Regions from separate parts of the Homo sapiens genome. Here regions 1, 3 and 4 are each linked to region 2. Evidence: promoter capture Hi-C in 16 types of primary human blood cells and fetal thymus (Javierre and others, 2016). All regions are on one chromosome and are shown on one strand. The core of a region is centred on a gene start or on the middle of the fragment in contact, and the rest is flanking DNA. Distances in the headings are between cores, read along the strand shown. Region 1 has its middle 13 kb from the start of GALNT2. Region 2 holds the start of TAF5L (TATA-box binding protein associated factor 5 like). Region 3 overlaps GALNT2 (polypeptide N-acetylgalactosaminyltransferase 2). Region 4 overlaps GALNT2 (polypeptide N-acetylgalactosaminyltransferase 2).

Region 1 (2,844 bases), core at 259-2,758, 430 kb after region 2:
CCAGGGTGGCCACTGAGTCCGCACTCACTGTCACTCTCCCCTTCCCTGCTCCACCTGTCCTTGTGTGCAGTGTACATGTGACCTTCTAACACACTACAGGGGACCCTTGAACAACATGGGGGTTAGGGCACTGACCCCCTTCGTGGTCAAAAATCCACGTATAACTTTTGACTCCCCCAAGACTTACCTACTAATAGCCTACTGTTGACTAGAAGACTTACTGATAACATAAACAATTACCACATACTGTGTATATGTCTTAAATACTGTGTCCATACAATACAGTAAGCCGGAGAAAAGAAATTATTAAGAAAATCATGAGGAAGAGAAAATACATTTCCTATTCATTAATTGGAAATGGATGATCATAAAGGTCTTCATTCTCATTGTCTTCATGTTGAGTAGGCTGAAGTAAAGGAGGAAAAGAGGAGTTCTTCTTGCTGTCTCAAGGGTGGCAGAAGATCCACATATGAGTAGACCTCATGTGGTTCAAGGGCCAATTTGTATTTACTCTACCTACTCATTGTGTTGAATGCTTACTGCCAGTCCCTCCCTTCCCCATCCACCACTGCACTACAGTAGGAACCCCAGGAGGGCAGGGACCTAAGTCTGGTTTTTTTTTGTTTGTTTTGTTTTGTTTTTGGAGACAGAGTTTCGCTCTTGTTGCCCAGGCTGGAGTGCAGTGGTGTGATCTCGGCTCACTGCAACCTTAGCCTCCCAGGTTCAAACGATTCTCCTGCCTCAGCCTCCTGAGTAGCTGGGATCACAGGCATGTGCCACCATGCCCGGCTAATTTTGTATTTTTAGTAGAGACGGGGTTTCTCCATATTGGTCAGGCTGGTCTCGAACTCCCAACCTCAGGTGATCCACCCACCTCGGCCTCCCAAAGTGCTGGGAATTACAGGCATCAGCCACTGTGCCCGGCCTGGTTTTTTTTGAGACAGAGTCCACCCTCTCACCCAGGCTGTAGTACCAAGGCACAATCTCAGCTCACTACAACTTCCACCTCCCAGGTTCAAGTGATTCTCGTGCCTCAGCCTCCTGAGTAGCTGGGATTACAGGGGTGTACCACAACACCCGGCTATTTTTTTTTTTTTTTTTTGTATTTTTAGTAGAGATAGGGTTTCAGCATGTTGGCCAGGCTGGCCTTGAACTCCTGACCTCAGGTGATCCACCTGCCTTGGCCTCCCAAAGTGTTGGGATTACAGGCGTGAGCCACCGCACCCAGTCTAAGTCTGTTTTGTTCCCTGATGTAACCCAAGTTTCTAGAACAGTGCCTGGCACAAAGCAAGCGCCTAATAGAGAATGGCTGATGGAATAAATAGAACTTCTCACTAAAGTCCACCCATTTCCTTAAGTCTGGGGCTATGGGGGCGTCTTTAACCATGAGTCTCCTTTCCTGCCTAAACCTTCCCACTCAAGTCCAGCTGCTGCTGCTTCCCAGCCAGCTCTTGTTTGATTCCTCCCTGCTCCCTCAGAGACCTGACTGGAGCTCAGATCTGCCCCACCCCATCCAGCTGCAGAGCATGGACTCGTCCCCTTACCCCAACAGGTCCTGAAATCACCTATTAATCTTTTAAAATGTTGCTTTTATCCTACCACTCCCTTGCTCTAAAAAACCCACCACCCCTCTGTCAGCTGTTGGATCAAGTTCAGGTATAGCAGCCTGAGAGCCAAGCTCTCAGATCCAGGGCCTATCCTCCTCCACCACAGCTGTCTGCGGTCGAGAACGCCTCCCAGAATGCTCACCCTCATGTCTGAACCATACCCATCCTCCAAAGCCCAACTCAAACCCTCCCCTCGACCCTTCCTTGGAACTCCAGCCCACACCGATGGGTCCATTCTCTGACTTCTCCCCACAACAATTGAGGGCAGCTCCTGATTTAAAAGTTGGATTAATGCAGCAGGAGATTAAGGACAATAAACCTTTTATCATTTGGAAATCCCCAAGAGATTTTGATAGCAACTAGACTTGCTCCCCGCCATATATATTACATTTAAAATTTTCTGTTAACCTCTTAAGTGTCCATATCCAGCATTTGCCACTTTATTTATTGCCTTACTATCTATTTCACATGTGCGTGCTCTGTTTGTCAAACAAGGGAATAAGTTCCTTGAGGGTAAAGGCTGGTTTATACAGTGATACGTTGATTAGAAATTCCTTGGGAACAAGGCTCATTTATTCAAAATCGACTATGCTCAAAAATAAAAACAAAACATCTTCATAAGTCATTCTAAGCAGAGCTGCCAGCTTACAGCTGCATGTCAGAAATATTTCAATGCACAGTTTCTGTTTGTCTCTACCGATTCTGAAGTTAACGAGACCCGTCTTGGGGAGAATCTGCAGTCTGAGAAGTTTGCTCTTGGCATGCAGAGCCTCCTCATTTCCAACTTGAGCTTCCGCAGCACCATTGTCAGGCCCCTGAAAAGCGCACATCTCCACCTCCCCACCTCGCCAACCTCCTGCAGAGTGGATAGACCTAGGAGACTGCCCTTTATCTTCATGGATGCATTGAAACTGACTCCCTCTGGACTGTGTGCACTGCACTCACTCTTAGAAGGTGTGAGATTTTTCTGAAGGCAGAGATGTTCTTCACCTTCTTCATCCGTGCACTCCAGTAATCTAGAATAGAGCTTGGCAAAACGTAAATACTCAATAAATATTTGTGGAATCGGTGATTGTTATCTCAATGGGCATTTATACTTTCAACCTTTTATCTCCAGTTGTTTCATAAATTGTTGAGGACTTGTCAATTACCTACATGGGAGAAATGTTCTCCCTCCCCACACCTTCTTAAGCAAAAATGCCCCTGATGTTTCAATTAGGCTGGTCAATCTGACCTG
Region 2 (2,716 bases), core at 76-2,575:
AAACTCCCTTTCCTACTCCCCCTTCCAAGTAGAGCTGTGACCAGGAACTGGGGCACAGCCTCCGTGTCCTCCCCTACATCCCCAACTCAGGTGTTGGCACACTTGAATCGCCTGATATAAGACACGCTCCGCACTTAATGTTCCTCTCAGCACAGCTCCCAACTGCTTGTTAGCAGGAGTCACCATTCCGAGATTCCAATCTGCAAGGTCAGTTTAGGTACAGTAATTTAAGACAGACACTGCATGGGACTGGCACTTACCTTCTGATCCCAGAACCACAAAGACTGCGAGATCCGCATTACAACGACTTTCACAACTGATGGGAGAACTGCATGTAGCGTTCCTGCACTCCACTTCCGCTAAGTCTAAAATGACACCACTGTTTCTAACCATCCACTCACTTCGGACCAACGCCTTATCGAATACATTTTCAAAAGCCTGGCAGCTTCGCGAGCTGGAGGTGGTGAACCCGTCCCACACCATGGGCGCACCAACCTTACCTTGCTGTCATGAGGCAACGAGCCCCGAGAGACACCCTTGCAGGTAAGCACTCTCCTGCAGCAGCTAGTCTAACTCTGGCTCCCCCGTGTCACACGCGGAGATCGACTCCACACCCACCCACGCACGATCACCATGTGCAAAGTTGAATCCCGACTTCGCCGCAAAGACATTTCCTTTTCCCCTACATGCAAAGGAGCTGTGGAGCCGTGCTCCCTGCTTGGCTGTCGGGCACTGGGATACCTTCCCCGCGGGCGCCCGCCACCTCCTCCCCGAGCCCGGCATCCAACCCGCAGGACCCACCCCTGCGCAGGAACGCGACGCCAGTCCAGGTGTAGCCGCCGACTGCAGGCCACGCCGCCGGCCGCAGCCCGGGACTCGGGAGGCCGAGGGCGGAGGCGCGGCCGTCGCGCCCGCGCAGAGCCGCCCGCCGCCCCCCAGCCCCGCCTCCCGCGCCCCACCCCCACCGCCCGCCGGCGGGAGCCAAGGCGCGCCCCGCCGAGGCCCCACCGCCCCGGCCCCCGCCCGCCCGCGCGCGCGCGCGCCTCGCGACCCTCCCGGCCCTCCCCGCCCGTGCTCCCGGCACTCACTGAACATCCCAGGCGGCTCCGGCTCCCCCCGCCGCCGCCGCCTCCGGGATCGGGTTGCTTCCGCCTCCGTCGTCTCTGCCGCAGGGTCTCACTCCGACGGCCGGCTCAGCTGGGCCCCCGCGCCCCGCGCCCCGCCGCCCCCGCCGCCGCTCTGGGCGGCCGCTCCATGACTGACTGACACGGAGCGGGCCGCGGGCTGGGCCGCTCGGGCCTCCAACGCGCAACCGTCTCCGCCAATGGGCGAGGCGCCTCGGCGCTCGGCTGGCGACGCCTGGCGTGCGTGCAGCCCCTCCCCGCTGCGCCGCCGGCGTCCGGCGGAAGGAGCGCGGGTACCGGTCCCACGTGGTGGGGACGCGGGACCCGTACAGCGGCCTCCGCCGCACCGGGACAGCAGCCGCCGCCGCTGCCGCCGTCCTCCCCTGTCTACCCGGAGCTGTCTCGAGCTGAGCCCCCTACCGGGCCGGATCCCGAGGTGAGTCCCCCACCTGCGGTCAGCCCCTGCGGGCAGCCAGGTCCCGAGGTGAGTCCCCCCACCCGGGGCTGGTCCAGAGGAGATCCCCCTACCTAAGGCCGGGCCCAGATGGGGGGCCCCCCAACCCTGCCCAGTTCCGGTGCCGCCAGCAGACTCTGGGCTGGAGCGGCTTCGGCACGCTCCATTCGCGAAGGCGAACTCCCTCCTGGCTCCTAGCTGCTCTCCCCTGGTTCTTGTTGCTTGGTCTCTTTCTGCTGGGCAGGGAGTGCTGGCAGGGCTGTGCTGTCCGCCCTGGACTTCGCATTGCCCGGTAAGGGCGGTTGGAGGCCCGGAGAGCCGAACTCTGGCGGAGCCGGGGAGAGCATCTCGGTTGTCTTTGTAGCCAGTTCAGCAAACACCTGTTATGCACTTTGTAGCTGTCGCGATGGCGGTTCTATGGTATTGAACTTAGAAAGTCAGGCATCGTTGAATTCGTTTTGGACATTTTGACAAAATAGGAAAACTGACAGCACTTGACGTTCTTGTTCTCTGCAGTAGAGTGAAGGATAACTTAATTTCTAAAATGAAAACGTCTTAACGTTCCTTTTTACTATAACTTTTAGGAAACTCAAAGCCAAGTTTACCCAGTTTAATAGTAACTGTAGGTGTTTGGTATGTTTGCTACCCCCGAGATTTCATGGTTTTTTGTTTTCTATTTTTAGTCTTTTCCTTGTGCAAGTATCTCTTGTAGAGTCTTTTTTGAAGTGTATGTGCGTTGTAAATTTATACACGACTGAATAAAAGTGTTAGTGGAAGGTTACTGTTGCAGCTGAAATAACTGTATTCCTTTGGGGTTTTCTTTTTCACTTGGAGACATATTACTTTCTCCGGATATTGCTTATGTATCTTTTCCTCTTTCAATTTGAAACCATGTATGAATGACTCTTTCCACAAGTAATGTAATCACTGATTTTGGCCTTGTTGAATTCCTGAACACTCACCTTTGTGGAAGTGATGTTTGATCATAGCTGGAATACATATAGTCCATCTTCTGTGTGTGCAGTCCATCTTTTGCTTGCTTTTGTCTGAATTTCCCCCAGAAAATTCTGGAGTCAAGCATCTTGTATGTAGATTTACCCCGACAAATCTGTTGATTCATTAAAAACTTTTAAAAGAA
Region 3 (2,700 bases), core at 21-2,520, 490 kb after region 2:
CAGTCTTCCTTGTACCAGTTTCTTTCTCTGTTCTTCTCTCCTTGACTCAGGAATCCAGTTTGCGCAGCACTTACATGGCGGGCAAACTCCAGTTTATACCTGGAGCTGCAGGGCGGAGCTGCTGTCAGCTGGGAGCTGTTATTGAGGAACAGCTGTGGTAGAGGTGGATAAGAAGAAGACCTGACCCCACCTGCTGGGGCAAGAAGCCTGCATAGCACAGCTAAACAGCCATGTGGGACAACGGCTGAGCAATGACAGTGGAACCCAGTGTCCCATGCAAAGTGCTCAAGAAGTGGACGGGATGGATCGCTGCTGAGTGGCTCTTGAGGAGCTCAGAGTATCTTGGGGCTGATGTTGCCTGTTGGGACTTTCCCCAGCACAGACAGCGTGCGGGATTTCAGATGCTCTTCTCCTTGCCTTCAGAAGCCCAGGGAGTGTTGGCAGCTTGTTTGCACCTGATCAGATAAAAGAGGTCATGATCTCTGTGAAGGTCTTTTCGGGGAAGGGGTCACTGGCCTTGCCAAATGTGGGAAGCGAGGCCTCTTCCCAGTTCTGCCTGTGACTCAATGGCTGTGGCTCAGGGCAAGTCATTGGATTTGTTTTTTGTTTTTTTTTTCAGAATAACGTCAGCATGTGCTGAGCATCTGACTCACGGGGTGAGGCAGTGAATGAAGGACTTCATCTCCGTGAAGTGCTTGACGTGATAGAATGAAAACCCTTGCGTTCCCAGCCTTGGCTGTCAGAGTCTCATTTTAAGGAAAGCCGTTTTTGACGTGTGTTTCCTTTCAGTTCGGAGCTGGCTTCTGTTAGGACAGGGGGTTTCTGCCCACTTAGCTGTGTCTCTGGTAATCTGAGATTCTTGGAAACGGGCCACAGTGATTCCTCTGGCCACATTCAGGGTCAGGTTTTCAGTTCGTCTTCCTGGTGTTTCCGCGCCTCATTCTAGGGGGAGGTTTAGTCGTTCCTTTCTCTGCTGTCCCCCAGTAGCTTCCGGCCATTCCTTGTGAAGGAATCTTCCTAAGTCAATTTTCCCTGGTGAAGACTGAGCCCTGGAAGAAGAGAACAAATCTCATCCTTTGTCACTTGGGAATTTCACTGGCGAAATTCAGTGAGGCACTTGAGGTTTGTAAATGGGCAGACGTTTCCCACACGATTACGTCTGTATGTTGGAAAGATATTTCTAAGTTGTAGTGAGGTAGGAGGGATTCTCAGCGAGAGGAGGGGCTTGGGCTGAACCCGGCACTGCTGGGACATGAACAGGGGAAACAGCGTTGGCGGTGGAGCAGGTAGACATTCCCTTGACCTCGTAAGTCCTGGATGCCACCCGGCGAACTGGCCTGCGGGCTGGAAATGATGCAGCTGACCCAGTAAACGCACTCAGCTCACCTTTTAGTCTGGTCCAGAACGCTGAATTGAGCTCTTGGATCTTGGTGCTAAATACGTGGTGTGGCATTAATGGCAGTAAAGATGGATGGTTATGTACCATGTAGAACGTGCAAATCTGTTTTCAATAGGCTTTATTTTTTAGAGCAGTTTTGGGTTCACAGCAAAATTGAGCAGAAGGTACAGAGAGTGCCTGTATACCTGCTACCCCAACATCCAGCTTCCCCTATTAGTTTCCCTTCGCAAGAGTTATAGTCCACAAACCTACACTGACACATCCTTAAGTCTCCCAAGTCCACAGCTTACATTAGGGTTCACTCTTTTTTTTTTTTTTTTTAAGATGGAGTCTCACTCTGTCACCCAGGCTGGAGTGCAGTGGCATGATCTCGGCTCATTGCAACCTCTGCCACCCGGGTTCAAGCGATTCTCCTGCCTCAGCCTCCTAAGTAGGTGGGATTACAAGCTCCTGCCACCACACCCAGCTAATTTTTGTATTTTTAGTAGAGACAGGGTTTTACTATCTTGGCCATGCCGGTCTTGAACTCCTGACCTTGTGATCCACCTGCCTCGGCCTCCCAGAGTGCTGGGATTACAGGAGGGTTCACTCTTGCTTTTGTACATTCTATGGGTTTGGACAAATGTACAGACACACGTCTGAGAAAATTGTGGGTTTGATTTCAGGCCATCACATAAAGCAAATACGGCAGTAAAGCAAGTCACACACAGTTTTTGGTTTCCTAGTGCATACAAAGTTATGTTTACACTGTATTGCCGTCTGTGAATAGGGCAGTAGCCTTATGCCTAAACAATGTACGGATCTTAATTTTAAAATATTTTATTACTGAAAAATGCTAAGGATCATCTGAGTTTTTAGCAAGTCGAGTCATAGTCTTTTTGCCCAGATGTTGATGGCTGCTGACTGATGACGGTGGTGGTGGTTGAAGGTTGAGGTGGTGGCTGCGACAGTTTCTTAAAAGAAGACAACAATGAAATTTGCCACATTGATGGACTCTTCCTTTCACAAAAGATTTCTTTGTAGCATGCGTTGCTGTTTAGCATTTTGCCCACAGTAGGACTTCTTTCAGAATAGGAGTCAGTTCCCTCAAACCCTGCCACGTCTTTGTCAATTAAGTTTATTCTGAATCCTTTGTTGTAATTTTGACATGCTCACAGCATGTTCCCTAGGAATAGATTCCATCTCAGGAAACCACTTTCTTTGCTCTTCCATGTCTTTTTCCAGGTTCTATCATGAGTTTGCAGCAATTCAGTCACATCTGTCGTCTCCACTTCTAGTTCTCTTGGTGTTTCCACCACAAC
Region 4 (2,736 bases), core at 36-2,535, 450 kb after region 2:
GAGCCAGCTCACCTCAGATTGCAGGTTTAGTAAACTAAGCAGGAGGGAGTGCTGAAGACCAATCTCAGGCACTGCCGCACAACTCGGGACTCAACACCCAGGCTCAGGACATGTATGTTAAAGCAGTTTATTCAAAATATTGTTTAAAATTATGTTTCATTTACATTTGTGTCCATACCCTTTCCCCCCATATTTTGCTCTTTCCCCCTAAATTGATGATTTGCACTTCAAGCGTGCCTTTCCTTTGAGCTTCTTAAATGCTTTAAAATTTTAACCATGTTAAGTCTCCCCTGGGCTTTGGTACGTTGGCAGTGGATGGAGCCGCAGAAGAGAGGAAGGGATTTCTCTGGAAATGAAGCTGCCTGTGGGTGAAGTGTGGCTGTTTAGGGTGGAAAGGGAAGGGTTTTCTCTCTGCTGTAAGAGTGTGTGGAGCCTGAGACCCCTTGCCTGTGTGCCTGCATGCTGGGAGGTAAGGGACGGTGTTAGTTGAGGGACATGATCCGGAGCCCTGGGAGCCTGTCCACTTTGCACAGTAGCATCACCCTTATTCCCTGAGCTGGCACGAGTCCTGTGGCCCTTGCCCGAGAGTCCAAGGGTGGGGGACTTTGGGTGGGATCTTCTAGGAATCATGCGGGGAGGCGGGCAGGTTATTTCTTGGAACAGTGAAGGACCTTGCCGGGCTAGACCATGGTACACATGGAGGGGAACGTTAGGGTGTAAAGTTGGAGAAATTCAGAACTAAATTGTAACGGGCTTCAAATGCCAAGCTGAACCATTTGGGAACTAGTAATGTTTTTGAGCTAGTAGTAGACATTAAAGGGAAATGGCACAAATCCACTTATTGGCATTGAGTGAGACCTAGCTGTTTACCTCTTTGTGCTTAGTGACCTTCACTGATGCATTGAACCTCTCTGACCCTCAGTTTCCTCATCTTTGCAGTGGGAGTAATCATTCTTACCTCATGGCCTTGTTCGGAGAGTTAAATACTGTTAGTGGGTGCTGAATAACTGCTATCTCTAAAAGAGGAAAATGAAAAAATAAAAGCCTAAATATCCCCTTGAAAGTGTAGTGAACCAGGAATCTTAAGTTCACGGTATTCCTGATACAATTCTTGATTTCTGGAAAATAGTCGTCTTTCTTTTTTTTATCCGTTACCCCCACCTCTGAGATTGATCTGACTGGTTCATTTGGGGTTTGGGCTATGAATCTTAAATGCTGTTAGAGACGGACTTTTTGGGAAGTTGTCCAGACACCATGCCAGCTCTCTTGTACCCAATTGTGGTGTCAGAATGGGGATCCCAGTAGTGGGCAGCCATCGGGAATGTGGGTGGAGGGTGCAGCTTGCCTTGGCGGTTAGGCAGTTGTAGTGTCCAACAGTGGACAGACGTGTCCCTGAACGAGGGGTTCCTGTGGTGGGATCCCAGGTTCTGAGCTCCACTGCTCTCCCTCTGTAGCCCTGCCCCTCTTGTTAGAAGGGCAGGTCGCTGTGATCCCTGGAAGCATGCATGACTTGAGGTGGAGCATGGGGCCCTCACGTGGTTTAATGGGTGCCAAAAATCTGTGAGCATCTTGGTGGATGCGGAGGGGAACACCCATACCACTCCTTGCCACCTATCATCAGTTTGGAGTTTAAAGAAAGTCCACTTCAAATGAGAGTTTGAAGTTGACACAGGGAGGACAGTAGCAGGGAAAACCACTGTATAGCCAGATAATCCGACAGTGGCACTGTAACATAAACTTCTCTCTTTAAAGAAAATAAAGTTTCCCAATTCTGGAGTGAAGCTGTGGCTGCCTCTGGGTCAGCAAACATAATGGAAACAGATTGTGTGACTGCTGAACAGTGCAAAAGTAACGAGCTCTTCCCTAGACCCTTGAGCAAAAATGAAAAAGCAACTGCTTTACCCAGCACTGAGTGGGGTCAGCTTGCCCAGGCTCTGTTGGACCTTGGGGTGGGGGACACCTGGGAGGCTGGTGAAGGTTTTATGAGTCTTCAGACCCGCTGTCAGTTTCCCCACCCTAGCTCCTGTTTGGATGAATGATGGGTGAGTGGTTGGTCTCCTGTTTGGAACAGAGGAAGAGGTGGTCAGAAAAATGATGGGAGAGGGGGTGGGGGAGATTGGGTTGGGGAAGACATAATTTCTTCTTGCTACTGCTCATGTTTCTTAGGGCTTTGGGGAGAGGGAAGTCAGTTTGGGAAGATACTGATTTTAGTGTCAAAGCAGGCAAGGCCACTGTCCTGCCTAACTTCTAGCAAGTCCAGAGGCAGTGGGCTTAGTGAAAGCAGGTGTGGTGGGGCGGGGGTGGCGGGGGGTGCGGTGAGGCTGCCTGGGACAGAGACACAGGTGTAAGCAGGAGTCGACTGTGAGGCTCTGGCTGAGATCCCAGGAAGGGAAGCTAGGTATTCCTGGGAAAAGCCTGTGAAGTCTCCTGGAGTGCCCAGCAGAATTCACGTGATGAGAAAACACACAAACCTGGCCAAGTCTATGCTCCCTGTTGGTTTTTGTGCTTTTGTCCTTGTGAAGCCTCTTCTGGAAGCTCTGCATGGGTGATGCTGAGCCGTACAAGTCAGTGGATATCCAGATGGAAACACACTGGCTTAGCCATGCCACTCACATGTAACAGTGGGGCACTTCCATGCTGGTTGTTAAATATGCTCTGCCTTGAGACCCCCTGAGTGCCCTCCGGTTCCTAGCTGCCCTGGTCTTTCCTTGGGATCTCTTTCCCATGTTCAGCAAT

What was found. The method cuts DNA at HindIII sites, captures the fragments that hold promoters and counts their contacts. A CHiCAGO score of 5 or more calls a contact.
Region 1: a fragment that was not itself captured here is called in contact with the fragment with the promoter of TAF5L in region 2 in 1 of 17 cell types (fetal thymus); the score reaches 5.3 in fetal thymus.
Region 3: a contact is called between a fragment that was not itself captured here and the fragment with the promoter of TAF5L in region 2, in 1 of 17 cell types (fetal thymus). The highest score is 7.9, in fetal thymus.
Region 4: a fragment that was not itself captured here is called in contact with the fragment with the promoter of TAF5L in region 2 in 3 of 17 cell types (fetal thymus, activated CD4 T cells and non-activated CD4 T cells); the score reaches 9.1 in fetal thymus.

The regions. Positions count from the first base shown.
Region 1 is chr1:230,052,843-230,055,686 of GRCh38, forward strand. No RefSeq gene overlaps it. Among named protein-coding and RNA genes, the nearest start is that of GALNT2, 13 kb to the right of the region's middle. The HindIII fragment of the contact is 4,956 bases long and covers 1-2,844 here.
Region 2 is chr1:229,624,797-229,627,512 of GRCh38, forward strand. It overlaps TAF5L (TATA-box binding protein associated factor 5 like), which reads right to left and starts at 1,326. Exons shown (of 5, transcript NM_014409.4): 1 at 1,089-1,326. URB2 (URB2 ribosome biogenesis homolog) reads left to right here and starts at 1,451. Exons shown (of 10, transcript NM_014777.4): 1 at 1,451-1,560. RefSeq lists enhancers at 235-284, 1,945-2,024 and silencers at 775-964, 1,055-1,754. The HindIII fragment of the contact is 3,723 bases long and covers 1-2,716 here.
Region 3 is chr1:230,113,304-230,116,003 of GRCh38, forward strand. All of the region lies in intron 1 of GALNT2 (polypeptide N-acetylgalactosaminyltransferase 2), which reads left to right. Among named protein-coding and RNA genes, the nearest start is that of GALNT2, 47 kb to the left of the region's middle. RefSeq lists an enhancer at 1-1,146. The HindIII fragment of the contact is 5,726 bases long and covers 1-2,700 here.
Region 4 is chr1:230,070,067-230,072,802 of GRCh38, forward strand. All of the region lies in intron 1 of GALNT2 (polypeptide N-acetylgalactosaminyltransferase 2), which reads left to right. Among named protein-coding and RNA genes, the nearest start is that of GALNT2, 4.2 kb to the left of the region's middle. RefSeq lists a silencer at 1,432-1,612. The HindIII fragment of the contact is 4,639 bases long and covers 1-2,736 here.